Linked DNA regions of Homo sapiens: regions 2 and 3 are each linked to region 1. The links are contacts of gene promoters, found by promoter capture Hi-C in blood cells and fetal thymus (Javierre and others, 2016). All regions are on one chromosome and are shown on one strand. Each heading gives the region's core, a stretch centred on a gene start or on the middle of the fragment in contact. The rest is flanking DNA. Distances are from core to core; before and after follow the strand shown. Region 1 holds the start of RWDD2B (RWD domain containing 2B). Region 2 overlaps LINC01697 (long intergenic non-protein coding RNA 1697). Region 3 overlaps GRIK1 (glutamate ionotropic receptor kainate type subunit 1).

Region 1 (5,152 bases), core at 995-3,494:
TCATGATCCACCCGCCCTGGGCTCCCAAAGTGCTGGGATTACAGGCATGAGCCACCGTGTCCGGCTGCTTATTACTATTATTATTATTGGTCATCATTTCAACAAATGTTTCTCAAGCACTTACGTTCAAGCACTGGCACTAAGATAACAATGAATGAAAGTAATAAAACAACTCTACTGGTGGGAGGATACCATGACATCAAAAACAAATTTATACGCCCAGCCCAGGTGCGGTGGTGGCTCACGCCTGTAATCCCAGCACTTTGGGAGGATGAGGTGGGCGGATCACCTAAGGTCAGGAGTTTGAGACCAGCCTGGCCAACATGATGAAACCCCATCTCTACTAAAAATACAAAAATTAGCCAGGTGTGGTCGCCCACGCCTGTAGTCCCAGCTACTAGGGAGGCTGAGGCAGGAGAATCGCTTGAACTGGGGAGGCGGAGGTTGCAGTGAGCTAAGATCATACCTCTGCACTCCAGCCAGAGCAACAGAGCAAGACTGTCTCAAAAAAAAACAAAAAAGAATTTTTGTACCCAGTGAATAACTGCTATGAAGAAACCTGAAAAAGAAAACAAGGATAAGGGAAACAATGAGGCAGCAGGGGTGAGACTGCACACAGCATTGTCAGGAAAGGCCTTTCTCCTAAGGTGACTGTAGGGAAGAGACTTTAAGGAACTGAAAAAGGAGGCCATGTGTTTTTCTTGGCCAAGAGTGTTCAAGGGAAAGCGAACAGCATATTCAAAGGCCTTGAGGAAGGAGGGTGCTAGAACAGCTGGCCAGAGCACAGTGAGCTGAGGACACGGGGAATAGAAGAGTTTAGTAAGGAAATGTGGGGCAGTTTATGTTGGGACTAGTAAAGCATGGCCAGAATTTTGAATTTTATCCCGACTGACATGTAAGAGCTACAAGAGAGGTTTGACTTATGAAGATCCCCACACTTGCTGCTATGGAGAAAAGTGAAAGGAAAAGTGGGGTGACCAGATATAGACACCGCAATAACTAGGGAGAGATGATGGTGGCTTTGATAGGATTATAGTGGTCAAGTTGGTGAGCTTCAGGTTCTGGATACATGCAGAGAACAGAGGCAACAGGATTTACAGATGAATTACATGAGACACGGAAGAATGACTCCGGGGCTTTAAGGTACTGAAAGTATGGATCTGCCATTTATTTAGACGTTGATGGTCATGGGGAGCTGAAGCTTGGTTTTAGACACAAGTAATGAAGTGCCTACTAAGACACCTGTTAAATAGAGAGGTCTAGCAGGCAGTTAGATGTATAGTTTTGAAGTCTACGAGAGACTCAGCTAGATATATAATCTTGGGAGTCAACACTTATTTGGAACTATATATTTGTTTAAAGTCTCCCAGGGAGTGAGTAAAGTTGGGAGAGGGTGCTATTGAATTGGAGGTATCGAAGATGAAATGGGATTAGCAAAGAAGAACGGGACGGAGGGACTCTTGAACGGACAACTACGGGAGTGATGTCACAGGTCATTTATCTGCCAAATTATTTTCGCTTAAGAGATTTCAGTCCTTCCAAAAAACCCTCAAGATAATTTTATGATTCAAGATTTCAGCGAATGCTGTAAGATAATAGACTGTGGCCGGGCGCGATTGCTCACGCCTGTAATCCCAGCACTTTGGGAGGCAGAGGAAGGGGGACTGCTTGAGCCCAGGAGTTCAAGATCAGCCTGGGTAACATAGTAAGAGCTCGCCTTTATTATTTTTTTAAAAAATAAAATATATTTAAGAGAACGCAGACTGAAACTTGAGATTTCTGAGTGGAATAATATCTTTTCCTTGCAGATTTTTTTTTGAAGAACAGAGCAGGGTACCCCGCGACCCAAGCCAAGACGCTCTCAGGAAGAAAGCCCAGCACGCAGCCGCCCTCGCACCCTGATTGCCCCCGGGGCGAGGTCCCCGGCTGGAGCAGGGCTGCAGAAGCCGGGAAGCAACGCCGAGGACCGAGCCGACCGATGGGCGCATGCAGTGAGGGGAACCGGGGCCGCCATGCCGGGCACGTTCCCAAAGGGTTGCACTGGGCGCTGCAGCGTGGGAAACCCCCGTGGCGGTCACCACTGGCGCTAGCTGAGGCGAGACTCACCTTGAGCCGTGGCCCCCTCACTGCTGTAACCCGGGTTCCATGGCTGCATGGACAGCTCAATTTTCATCAGAAGGGAGCCTCAAAATTCTAGCATACTGCGACCCAAAACTTACAAACCGCCTCAGCTGGCGACCTACCGGAAAAAAAAAAAAAAAGCATGCGGCGCATGCGCGTCCAAGGCCGCGGACCGGAAGCTGGGGCTCGCCTGTTGGGAGCCGCGTCCGCCGGTGTTGGTGTCTGCACTTGGAAGGACGTAGGGAATGCGTTGTCCCTGCTAGGTACTTTTCAGTCGCAGAGTTCTCTTCTTCTTCTTTCTTTCTTCCTTTTTTTTTTTTTTGAGACGGAGTCTCGCTGTGTCTCTCAAGCTGGAGTGCAGTGGCGCGATCTCGGCTCACTGCAGCCTCCGCCTCCTGGGTTCAAGCGATTCTCCTGCCTCAGCCTCCCGAGTAGCTGGGATTACAGGCGCCCACCACCATGCCCAGATAATTTTTGTATTTTTCAGTAGAAATGGGGTTTCACCATGTTGGCCAGGCTGGTCTCGAACTCCTGACCTCAGGTGATCCACCGGCCTCGGCCTCCCACAGTGCTGGGATTACAGGCCTGAGCCACCGTGCCCGGCCGGAGTTTTTCTACTTAATACCTCTCCATGCCAACCCCGTTGTCATTTCCCAGCGGCCGCCTCTATAACGGGCACTTTTCAGGGACAAAGAATTGGTCCGTTAATGTTCCTCAAATTCGAACGCGCCTAGGAATAGTTCGGGGATCCTGTTGAAGTGCAGATCAGGATTCCGTAGGTAGGGGTGGGGTTCCAAATTCTACATTTCTAGTATCTTCCCACACGATGGTGATCCTCCTTGTCCCTGAATCATGGAGGAGGGCAATTAGGGAGATGTGAGCCTGGATGCATGGTGGCCTTGGCTATCTTAGGTGTTCTTGCCCATTAACCAAGCTGGGAGGAACCGTGTGAATGCATATCTATCCCTGTTAATAAAAGGGTAGTTTGAAGGAGATGCTGACAGGAGAATAATTAGAAATGTTTTTCTTCCCAATCCAACTATATGCAATACACTTTATAATATTCATTTTAGAAATGTCATAGATAAGATTTGTAAACATTGACATTTAGCAATACTAAATATCACTGCTAGGTCTCCCCTCCACTTTTTTTTTTTAAACAAAAATACGACAGTATGTATTGTAGGTCTTCATAAACTACGTCTTCTGCATAGTGTTTCATGAGCGTTTTTCAATGTCATAATTTATTTTTTCCTCCAACATTTATTATGAAAAAATTCAAGTGTAAAGCGAAGTCGAGAGAATTTTACAGTGGAGCAGACCTCAAGAGAAGGGGAAGGATGGATTTCCCCTCTATTTAGCAGTGTCTGAAGACATTTTGGGTTGTCACAACTGGAAGGATGGTATTGGCATGGGGTAGGTAGAGCACAGGGATGTTCCTCAACTTCCTACAATGAACAGGACATCCCCCGACAACAACAAATTTGCTGGTCCAAAATGTTGATAGTGTTGAGGTTGAAAAACACTGACCTGGAGAGTACAGAATTTTACTCTACCAGCTTTGTCACATACCTCATCAATCTATCTGTTTTCATACATTTAAAAGTAAACTGCAGACAGTACGCTTCTAAGTACCTCTAATGCACATCATTGGAGTTCAAATTAAGGATTTTTTAAGGTAAAAATGAAATGCATACCTTAAATACACATCAGTTTTTAAATGCACACGCCTATGGAACTCAAGCCATATTAACATATAGAACGTTACCATCACCCTAGAAAGTTCTTTCATGCCCTTTCTTAGTTCCCAACCAGTTCTCCCCAAAGGTAACCACTGTTCTGATTTTTTCCCCCACCATACTTATTTTTCTTGTTATAGAACGTCATATGGTTGGAGTCATGCAATAGATATTTTTGTGTAAGGGTTCTTTCACTCAGGGTAATATTTTCATCTGATATCATGTGTATCACTTTCTTTTGATTGCTCAGTAGTATTCCATCATATGAATATACCAGTTCCATTCTTGTTTTGATAGAAACCTGGGCTGTCTTCAGTTTTTTGGCTATTATAAATAAAGCTGCTGTGAACGTTCTTATATAGCATTTTATTGCTCATGACTTTCTTTTCAATAAATATTTATCGAGCACTTACTATATTCCAGGCATTTCCAGGTACTAATTATAGCCATGAACAAGACAAAGATGTCGCATCTCTCAAAGAGCTTATATTTGCACATTTCTGTGTATGTATGAAGAGGGCTAAACATAAAGGTAAAAATAAAAGAAAATTATGGGCCGGGCACAGTGGCTCATGCCTGTAATCCCAGCACTTTGGGAGGCCAAGGCGGGCAGATTACCTGAGGTTGGGAATTCAAAACCAGCCTGACCAACATGAAGAAACCCCGTCTCTACTAAAAATACAAAAATTAGCTGGACATGGTGGTGCATGCCTGTAATCCTAGCTACTGGGGAGGCTGAGGCAGGAGAATTGCTTGAACCTGGGAGGCGGAGGTTGTGGTGAGCCGAGATCACGCCATTGCACTCCAGTCTGGGCAACAAGAGCAAAACTGCGTCTCAAAAAAAAGAAAAAAAAAAAAAATTATGGCTGGGTATGATAGCTCATGCCTATAATCCCAGCACTTTGGGAGACCAAGGAGGATCACTTGAGCCCAGGGTTTGAGACCAGCTTGGGCAACAGAGACCCCTAACTCTACAAAAAACACAAAAATTAGCCAGGTGTGGGGGCGTGTGCCTGTAGGCCTGTAGTCCCAGCTACTCAGGAGGCTGAGGTAGGAGAATTGCCTGAGCCTGGGAAGTTGAGGCTGCAGTGAGCTGTAACTGCACCACTGCACTCCAGCCTGGGCAACAGAGTGAGACTCTGTCTCAAAAAAAAAAAAAAAAGAAAGAAAATTACCAGATAGTGGATAAACTGCTGGGCAGAGAAGTAAAGTAAGGTGATGTGAGTGATCAGATGACTGTGTTACTTAGATTGCCCTGTAACTGGAAGGAAGTGACTTTTAAGGCATGTATA
Region 2 (5,152 bases), core at 1,183-3,682, 880 kb before region 1:
CTGCCCTCCAGCCTGGGTGACAGAGCTCAAAAAAAAAAAAAAAAAAGAAATGTAAAGTGCTAGCCCTTCCACACTGTGTACGTGTCAAACCTTTTCCAGTTGGTATTTTCACATCTTAGTATTGCAAATGTTGGTATGCATGCACATGTGTTGTGTGTGTGCTGGTGGTAGTGGTGGTGGTGGTGGGGTGTGTGTGTGTGTGTGTGTGTGTGAAAAAGGCAATACAGGAATGGCAGAAGCAGAAATACGGAGTCAAAATCATGTCATAGGAAAAACATTATGTAAATTGGGATTTATTACTTGCACAAATGATACGAAAGCCATGCATAAGTTTTATTCAAAAGGATGATTAGGTTTAGAGTAATTGGATCTATTTCCTCTGTAGCTCTGAGAGGTAAAAGTAATATTAAAGAACAAAAGTTTAACATAAGAAATTTTTTTTCAAAATGGAATCATCCCCTCACCTAAAATAAATAGATAAAATAGACTATCAAAGGGAAATCATTTGTTGTTACTACCCTTTTCTTGCCCAATCGAGGCTTGGAGAAGTATCAGACTATATGATATTTAAGATCCCTCCCATCACTGGGAACTTGTCATTTGATGGAAATAAAAAATGAAAGAAAAATGTTTGGTCCTCAACCTTTTAAATCCAGACACTTGATGATTGTTACCACTTTACGTCAGATCGACCTTACTTTCATGGAAAATTGTCATTTTTTGGCCACTCAGCATCCAAACGAACTTTCTCTTTCTGAGATATTTACTCCCATTACCTCCCAACAGACTTGGCCAATAAGATGTTCCTGCCTAAGACTTTGAATCTGGAATGGGGAACACAGAGAACATGAGCAACGAAGAATTATTCACAGCACAGCACAGCAGTGCTGACAGCATCGACAGTCCTGTGGTGCCAGCAAGAATCCAAAAGAAGTGTCCTACATAAATTCCCTTAATCACTGACCATTTAATGAGGCTGATTCAGCCTCATACAAATTTTGTATGCTTCTTCATACAATTTTTAATTGTGCTGTAAAAGTTAACCAGAGACAATTTCTGTTGCTTGCACACAGTAAGTTGACTAAGCAAAAAAATTCAGGAGAGATTATTTTATAGAAGTCAATGCAAATGCATTAATTTACAAGAAGTGAAACTGCAAGTTCACTTTGCTGCCTTATGGCCAGCATATTCTCTTACAAGGGAAGTCTATATGGCAATCTGTGTTATGATCAGAAGATTTGGGAAAGATGGAATCTGTGAGAGAGTTTTATGACACACGGTTACAACTGATCACAGGATCAAACACTAAAACTCCAATATATATATTTATTCTTATTAGCAAAGCTTTTATGCTATGGAGGAAAAAGAAAAAGAAATAAGAAATTCTGAGTTTCTCTAAACTTCCAGTATGTGGATGAGTTAAAAACTATGTCATCTTGGATTCCCCATTTTAAATATTTCATAATAATGCATTATAATTGGTACATGTTAATATCAATTTTTTCTTTTGCTGTTTTTGAAGTGGTGTGAATCACCTGTAACAAGGTTTCCTTATCATCCATTTAATTATTGTCCTATAATATACTTTTCAATACAGCAACTACTTTTTATGTTTTGGGATTACTTTTACTATTGTTAGATAAAACCTATGGTTGATTGTGTGCCTCTAGAAGAACTTCAAAAGTACAATATAAATCTTGCTAACAATAACTCATTATGGTCAGTGGTTTTTCAGGATAGTTATTTATCTCAACTACTCATGATGTGAATGTCTTTTAAAATTTGAATAATTGCCCTCTCTGTCAGATACAATATTATTATATTTTTACTGATTACATTAAGAATTAGGCAAGATTAAAATTTTCTTTTTGCACCATCATTACTTCTTAAGAACTTAACTGTTGTTGAACAAATAGTACGTGTGTCAGTTATTAAATGTAGTCTAAATTCATGAAATAAGAATGTACATATAGCATAGTGGGAAAAACACAGGTTTTAGAATCATATACCATAGAGTTATGTTTCAGTAGTGCTACTAATGTATTCTTTGACCCTACGTCAGTCAGCAAACACAACTGAAATCAAGTGGTAACTCTATGTTCCTCCTTTGTGTAATAAGTATTTTTACATGTTTGAGATCAAATGATATAGTGTGTTAAAATTATTTATAAGCTAAAATATTTTATAAATAATAGCTGTACTTATTAAAAATTAGAGATTAATAAGTTGTTACATAAAACACACGTAAGCGATTCAATGTTAGGAAAATATATTTAGCTTTCTCAAAATTTTATTTCATAAAGCAAAGTTTCCTACATTAACTATCCAGCTATCTGTTGTGTTTTTCATCATCATCACAAATGGATTCAGACTGGCTACCATATAAAAACACTCATAAATTCTAGGAATGCCAGAAGTTCCTGTCCTCAACTATCTAATTGTATTCTTTAGATAACTTCACATATTATGAAGATAAATAACTAGCGATACAGCAGAACCCATGGTAAATAGCACTGAGTCATGCAGTTAATGAGCATAATGTGGACAGAAGAGAAAATCACTGTTGCTTCTGTCCCTTGGAGCAGGTGGACTTCAGCTGAAACTTGAGGGAATACTGTCCATTCTGTTTAGGAAGCATTGCTAGGAAGAGTGTATTGCCAGCTGCTTGTGTTTTTAAAGTCACTGCATGCATGTGTGGTAATTTGTTATGGCGACATTAGGAAACTCATACAAATTTTGATGTCTGAGAGTTATATACTGCTGTAACAAATATCTATAAAATGTCAAAGTGGCTTTGGAATTCGGCAGTGAGTGAGGCTAAGAGAATGTTGAAGGTCATCCGAGAAAAACTTACATTGTTTTGAACACATTGTTAGTAGAAATGTGGTTGTTAATGATTCTGCTAGAAAGGACTTAGAAGAAAGTGAAGAGAAGAGCATGGTAGAGAAGGCATAGACTGCGTTAGAGCATACATGAATCAGCATGAACAGACTTAGTAAAAATAGGGACATAAAAAGTACTATTGGTGAAGGCTTAGAAGGAAATAAAAAACACATTAAAAATTTGAAGAAAGAATTTCCATATTATATAGCGGTAGAAACTTAGCAAAGTTGTCCTACGTTCAGGTGAAAAATAGAACTTGTAAATGATGAAATTGAATACGTAAGTAAGGATATTTCCAAGCAAAGGGTTGAAGAAGCCGCCTGGCTTCTTGTTTCTTCTCATAGCAAAATGCAATGAGAAAGAGATAATTTGAGAAAAGAACCGTTTAAACAAAAAGAAACCAAGACATAATGATTTTGGAAATTCTCAGTTTATTCAGACTGCAAAAGATATTAAAATAAAGAAACTCAGTAACAGGGATAGATAATCTAAAGAAAAAGCCTAGGACACGGCTGTAGTAACCTTCTGTTTTTATACCTCAGCAATTTGCTAATGCCTCAAAAAGATCAAAAGTACTCAAATATAAAGGGCTCTTTGAAGAGATTAGATTTCCTCAATCAAACCAAAGAGCATCGAGGAAGCTTAAGGTTACTGTCCCTCACATATCTCAGCAGAAGGCAAAAATAGAAGACTGATTATCTAAGAAAGATCTCTGAAAGAGTCTCATATTATGGAGTGAACCCCTGTGGCATACATGGGAGACCCACTTGGTTCTTGAGAATTTTATATCAGGAGAAACACTGTCAGTCTGTATTGAAAGGAACAGAGAAAATACGAAATTAAAGAAGACTATTAAACCTCCAAAATTCTGGCAGGAAAGAAGCTTACACAGCTACTCAGTTGCAAAGATCTGCCACTTTTCATATACATGAAAGGACTCAGAGGAGGAAGCCACAGGTTTAGAAGGAAAAGCTAAAAGCAACATCGTATTAGTCTTGGATCTAGGAACCTAATTTCTCTAGCAGAATCTAGAAATGGCTTGGGACAAGTGATTGTTTTTTTACCTAGGATTTTCTCCCTCTTGAAAACAGGACTGTCTGTAACTATTATCCTATGCCTGCCCTACCATCATATTTCAGAAACAGGTAACTTATGTTTTCACTTTCAAAGATTCACAATAAAGAGAAATTGTACCTCAGAATGGATTATACCAGAGCTTTCCTCATGCATAAATTAAATAATTTAGGTTATGTGATTTGAAGCTTTTGAGTGGGTGAGGTGACATTTTGGATGCTGAGTTGGTGCCGTAGTGAGTCCAGAATTCTGCGGAACTTGGTTTCGGTTAATGAATTTTGTAGGTGAGATAGTCTTAAATCTTTAGAGTTTAGAAAGTGGAATGTCCTACCCAGCATAAAAATCCCCCAGTGATGTACATGTCCTAGTTCCCAGAACCTATACATAGGTTAACATATATGGCAGGCGTGATTACGATTAAATAATTTGATATGAGTAGATTATTGTCAAGGTGGTCCCAATCTCATCACAGCAGTCCTAATAAGCAGAAAACCTTTCCAGGCTTCCCTGTTGTCAGTGAACCAGGGAAGCCTGGTGTGTGGGAAGAACTCTATTCGCCATTGGTTGCTTTAAAGATGGAAGGGGCCACAAACCAGGAAATGTGGTTGGTTTCTAGCAGCTGGAAAAGGCAGGAAAGAGATTTTCCCCTAGATCTTCTGAAGAGAAATGCAATCCCACTAATACCTTGATTTTAGCTCAGTGAAACTTTTGTCAGACTTCTGACCTATAGAACAACAAGGTAATAAATTATTGTAGTTTTATACGACTAATATTTTGGTAACTTCAATGGCAGCAATAGAAAACAAATGCATGTAAAAATTATTGCCCATGAAAACTTTGTTTCAGTAATGTATATATACATATATCTCAGTCATATAGATAAAGAGGTACATACATACATACACATACATATATGCTACAGAAAGTTCACCCTCCTCAAAGTAGTATGCAAATGGACTGTACAAACTGAAACCATGAAAAGTGATTTTAATAATCAATGGGAAAAATTATAATTGTACCGTAATCTTTAATGATGTTTGTCAAGACTTTACAATCTCTCTTATTGTTGGTTATAAATTTACAAAGAATTAAAAGGTAATAAAACTAGTCTTACCTAGTACTCTTTAATTTAAAACACTTGAAACATTGAGGTTGAAGTACTTTACTTCTTTGTAAAAAACTTAGTATAAATTGT
Region 3 (5,152 bases), core at 1,476-3,975, 620 kb after region 1:
ACTGAGATTATAGACAAATGTGTTTGCATTTTGGGGGACAATGGATTTATGTTTAAATCAGTTTTAATAGAAGCACTGTGACCCAGAAAATAACTAAGGACAACTGATGTAACGTAAGATCTCTGATTCCCGGTTCTGTACTCTGTTCACTGTTCTTCCCAGCACCCCTGATTAGAAACCTTCTTCTTTCCAGATGCTTCAGTGCTTGCTGCTACCACAGCTGCTCCACTGATTGTCCTATATCCAGCTGGAACCTAATCTGGACACAGCGTAATTCTTGGCTTCCTCGGCCCCTACATTCAGCTACCATTTCCCAGACTGACCTGAGAAGCAGCTTGCTATGGTATTCTGGTAGCTCATGCTGTAGTTCAAATGTTTGTTTACCCCTAAAATTCATGTGCTGAAATTCTAACCCTCAAGACAATGGTAATAGGAGGTGGGGGCTTTGGGAGGTGAATGGATGGCACTAGTGCCCTTATAAAAGAGGCCCTTGAGAGATTCCTTGCCCCTTTCACCATGTGAGGACAAAGTGCAAGACAGCTGTCTATGAACTAGGAAGCCAGCCTTCACCAGACAACGGATTCTGCTAGCACCTTGATAGTGGACTTCCCAGCCTGCAGAACTATGACTAGTAAGTTTCTGCTGTTATTTGACACCTGGTTTATGGTATTTTGTCACAGCAGCCCAAACGAACCAAGAAACTCAGCCTTGGTTGAGGTGAATTTTTGCCTAATGTCTTTTCACCTTTCTTGAACAATCATGTGTGTGGTCTATGATTGAAAGTCCTCATTTCCTGGCTTCGTTGCAGTTGGCCTACTGCATGCTGCATGCCTGTCTCCATGGAACTTTCGGTTTTCCACCACTAGGTACTGTCTTCCATTTTGCAAACAACTGCTACTTTATCCTAGACTCCAATAATAATAATGATGACTCCAATAATAATAATGATGACACCAATAACAGTAATAAGAAACATGCAGTGCTTATAATATGTTTGGCAATATACTTAATGTTTCCTAGGTGTTGCCTTATTTTTCCTGACCACTACCTTACATGGTAGACATTTTTTTTTTAAATAAAGGAAAGAGGTTTAATTGACTCACTCACAGTTCTGCATGGCTGGGGAGGCCTCAGGAAACTTACAATCATGGCGGAAGGGGAAGTAGGTATGTCTTACATGGCAGCAGGAGAGAGAGGAGAAAGCGAAAGGGGAAGAGCCCCTTCTAAAACCGTCAGATCTCTTGAGAACTCAGTCACTATCACAAGAACAGCATGGGGGAAACGCCCCCATGATCCAATCACCTCCCTCCTTCAACACTTGGAGATTATGGGTACCCCACTCCACACGTGAGGATATGAATTCGAGATGAGATTTGAGTGGGGACACAAAGCCAAACCATATCAGTTGTACAAAGAGGTGGCAAAATAACAATTACCCGTAAAGTGCAATACAGAAACAAAAGGCTACTTTGTGATGTTAGAATATTAAAAACATAATCCTCACATAAATATGTCAAAGAAACATAAATATTTATGCATGAGAAAACAAGCAGGTAAAACTAGTTCAAAGGAGGATACAGTGGACTGAATTATACATGTACATTTTTTCTGTAAGTTCATTTCAAGAAAAGGTGTTAATCTAACTGCAATCTTACTCCAATAGACTTCCTTTTCTTGAAAATGGAAAACTGTTTTTCATTTTTTAACAGAACCTTTCATTTGATGGTAGCTATCCTTCATTAAACAATCACTACATGACAAATATTTTGCTAGGCTATACATATAAAATATGTAATCCCTACAAACTTATGGTGTGGGCATTTTATTACCCATGTTATAGAAGGAGGAACTGAGAAACAAGCTAAATGACTTGACTAAGTTCACACTGACAGCAAAGTGTGATGAAATCTCAGAATCTGTGTTCCCAGCACCAGAGTTAAATAGGTTGGTCTTTCCCTAAATCCCTGCCTCACTCTCCTATCGAAACCTATGGCCCTGGTGGACAGGTCTAGTCCAGCTCCTGACTCTGTCTTATTGAATTGTTTCTGGATATGATTTTTATGAACACAGTGTGTCCTGAAGCACTGCACATGCTTATAGATTGTGTGTGTTCTTCGGTTCCTTTGCTAATTCATTCATTAATTCATTCATCAATTCATTCACTTGTTTGGCATGTATTTATTGGGTGCTTATTCTATGTCCAGCATTGTGCAAGAACTAGGGAATTGAGACTGAAAACGCATAGCTTGGAGATAGACGTGGAAACAAACACAATAGCATACCCACAGTTGTAATGGAGGTACAAAGCCTACATCTGTGAGTCAGGGTCCTGCAGATAGGAGCTAGTGCTTGAGTTGAGACGTAAAGCATGACCCAGAGGAGCACGGCATTGCAATCAGAGTTAAAATAATTTGGTAGGAGCATATTGCATATTCAAGGGAGCCACAGTAGGTTCAGCAGGTGCTGCAGATGGAGCAGGAGATGAGAGAGCTGGCAAAGGGATCAGGAACAAGATCATGAGCCTGTATATCCTGCTGAAGAGTGTATGTTTTATCCTGAGGTATAAGAAAAAGCTTTAATGAAGCGTGTCAATCCTCTGCCATGTAGAATTTACATTACTAGGTGGCAGAAGCCACCTCTTCTACTTTTCAAGGGTGTTATCCCTTAAGATGCCAAGTTAATATTACTTATGTAGTGGAGTTCCAGTAATGCTTGTTGAGTGGGAATGTATAATCTCCTAGCATGCATTTGTTTAGCAAATGCTCGGAGAGCTAACATAGTAACATACTCTATCATGTTTCATATGTTCTTTAACTCTTCCCCTTTATCTAGTCAGCCCCATACACTGAAAGGCAGTGAGCTGGAAACATGTGTCTGAAAAGCTTACTGATTCCCAACAGTGTGTGGAGTTATCAGAAATTACCGCACATGCAACAACCTCTGCTCAGGAAGTTTACCTCCTGTGATGAATTTGGTCTTCACCCCATAAATTCAATCTGCTGACTTGCTTCTTTTCATTTTTTTTTTTCTGACTCTAGTTTTGGAACTTCTTTACAAAGTGAGAATAACTTAAAAAAAAAAAAGAAGCAGCGGGGGAAATTTGGGGACCAAGTTCCTTATTTCATGTTTCCTAATGAAACCTGATACTTGCAAAATTTTGTTCAGTTATGCACTCATCTGAAAAAACACGTGCACTTTCTCTTTTGCATGTTTTAGGTTGTCTCAGAATTTCCTCAGTGCCAGTCCTCCAGCAGGCTGAGGCATTGCTTCTGGTTACCCCATTCCATCTTCTCTGTAGGTACCTACACCCTGCCAAAGGTAGCATATGACATCCTGACTCAGGAGACAAAAGAGGATGAGCACAATGTTGACAATGGTTTCTGATTCATTCCCCCCTCCCTTCCTGTAACCCCTAACTGTGGAGATTAAAAATGAGAGATTTGCTTCTTTGGAGTGAATGAATATAAAATGCCTTCTTATTTTCAGTGTGGTCCCTCATCTTGGAGCTCATTATTTCTTTAAATATGCCTAAATGTGGCTTGGTAATTTCACCTTCTTATGCGACTTAAGTACAAGTGATAAGGTGTCTTGGGGGCTCTTGAGTGTTTGATCCCAAGCTTTCATGTCACTTCTGCCTCTCCTTGAACTTCTAGGAGATAAAAGAAAACCAGCTGTTTTCTTGTTAAAGATCAAGGTAATCAGGATGGCGATTCAGGACACAACCATGATCACTGCAGGGAAAAGGAGGTGGTGTGATGTTTTTCTATTAGGCACAGTGTGTCAGAGTTATGTAGCTGTCAGAAAAGGTATTTTGTTTCATGCCTATTTGTGATGTCTTTGTTGTTGTTGTTGTTGTTGCCAGTTTGAAATTCCTGGTATCATCTTCAGTAAACTGAATGAGGCTATTCTTAGTGGTGCCTTCCAATGGCAAGAGAATAGTATTTCAGATGCTTACTAGGTTTCTGAACTATTCTTCACAAGCATTTGCCTAATTCTTTATCCTTACAGTCATGCTGTGGGGTAGATGATACTATACCCATCTTATAGATAAGAAAACTGAGAGACAAGAAGTGTAAGTAACTTGCTGATATGGTTTTGGTGTGTCCCCACCCAAATCTCATCTCGAATTGTAGCTCCCACAATTCCCATGTGTTGTGGGAGGGACCCAGTAGCAGGTAATTGAATCATGGAGGCAAGTCTTCCCATGCTGTTCTCGTGATAGCGAATAAGTCTCATGAAATCTGATGGTTTTATAAATGGGATTTTCCCTGCACAAGTTTTCTCTTGCCTGCCACCATGTAGACATGCCTTTCACTTTCCGCCATGATTGTGAGGCCTCCTCAGCCACGTGGAACTGTGAGTCCATTAAACCTCTTTTTCTTTATAAATTACCCAGTCTCAGGTATGTCTTTATCAGCAGCATGAAAATGGACCAATAGACTTGCCCAGGTTATATTGCTCATCAGTGTTAGTGGAACTAAGATTTAAACCCATGCAGTCACTGCCAGGACTAGGATAAAGTAAGAGAGGTGCTCAGGGTACAAAATTTAAGCGAGAATTTCCTCTTAATCTTGTGCAAGTATAGAATACTCACCCAAGAATGAATGTTTCCTTAAATTGCACCCTCATCCTGGGCTTGCAAGCAACCTAGATTTGTAGCCTAGGTACTTAATCCTTATACATCCCGCCTGCTTTATCCTCACCCTCATGGATCAGAGTCAGCCTTTAGTTGCATTGAACAGACTGAGAGAGGGTGTGCAGGCATGGAAGAGACCAGCAGAGACACGAGTCCAAAGCAGGTGTCTTTCCTTACTCTTAGCTGGGTATTCTCCTGTGCCCTCCCTCTTCTTTACACTATATTTCCATCCTTCTCCAGTACAGAAAGGAAAAAAATACTCTTCACTTGAGAACTAAATGTCTGTATCCCATAGAGAAATATTAGAATAGCATCTCAGAGCATTGCGCATACTCAGGCCTAGCTACTCCAAAGAGCCTTATTTCTTATCATCAAGTCCAGACACACCCTGAGGTTCGTGGTGGAATGGATGATCATGCAGTGTACATATCGATAAGGAGTCACGGGGCTTAGAACAGGGCCTTGTGACAAGGAGTCAAACTGCCTCAGAGAAAAGAAAAGGTGGAGGACAGTCCA

The links. Contacts are between HindIII fragments. The CHiCAGO score rates a contact against its expected background, and 5 or more counts as called.
Region 2: a fragment that was not itself captured here is called in contact with the fragment with the promoter of RWDD2B in region 1 in 1 of 17 cell types (M1 macrophages); the score reaches 5.2 in M1 macrophages.
Region 3: a fragment that was not itself captured here is called in contact with the fragment with the promoter of RWDD2B in region 1 in 1 of 17 cell types (monocytes); the score reaches 5.5 in monocytes.

The regions. Positions count from the first base shown.
Region 1 is chr21:29,017,105-29,022,256 of GRCh38, forward strand. It overlaps RWDD2B (RWD domain containing 2B), which reads right to left and starts at 2,245. Exons shown (of 5, transcript NM_016940.3): 1 at 2,107-2,245. The coding sequence starts at 2,173. LOC124905005 (a long non-coding RNA gene) reads left to right here and starts at 482. Exons shown (of 2, transcript XR_007067836.1): 1 at 482-1,143; 2 at 1,809-4,224. RefSeq lists an enhancer at 2,086-2,335. The HindIII fragment of the contact is 4,408 bases long and covers 1,200-5,152 here.
Region 2 is chr21:28,135,904-28,141,055 of GRCh38, forward strand. It overlaps LINC01697 (long intergenic non-protein coding RNA 1697), which reads left to right. Exons shown (of 5, transcript NR_126010.1): 5 at 787-1,706. The region is part of intron 5 of LINC01695 (long intergenic non-protein coding RNA 1695); the gene reads right to left. Among named protein-coding and RNA genes, the nearest start is that of LINC01697, 90 kb to the left of the region's middle. The HindIII fragment of the contact is 2,180 bases long and covers 1,343-3,522 here.
Region 3 is chr21:29,637,091-29,642,242 of GRCh38, forward strand. The region is part of intron 7 of GRIK1 (glutamate ionotropic receptor kainate type subunit 1); the gene reads right to left. Among named protein-coding and RNA genes, the nearest start is that of GRIK1-AS3, 18 kb to the right of the region's middle. RefSeq lists an enhancer at 2,742-2,821. The HindIII fragment of the contact is 309 bases long and covers 2,572-2,880 here.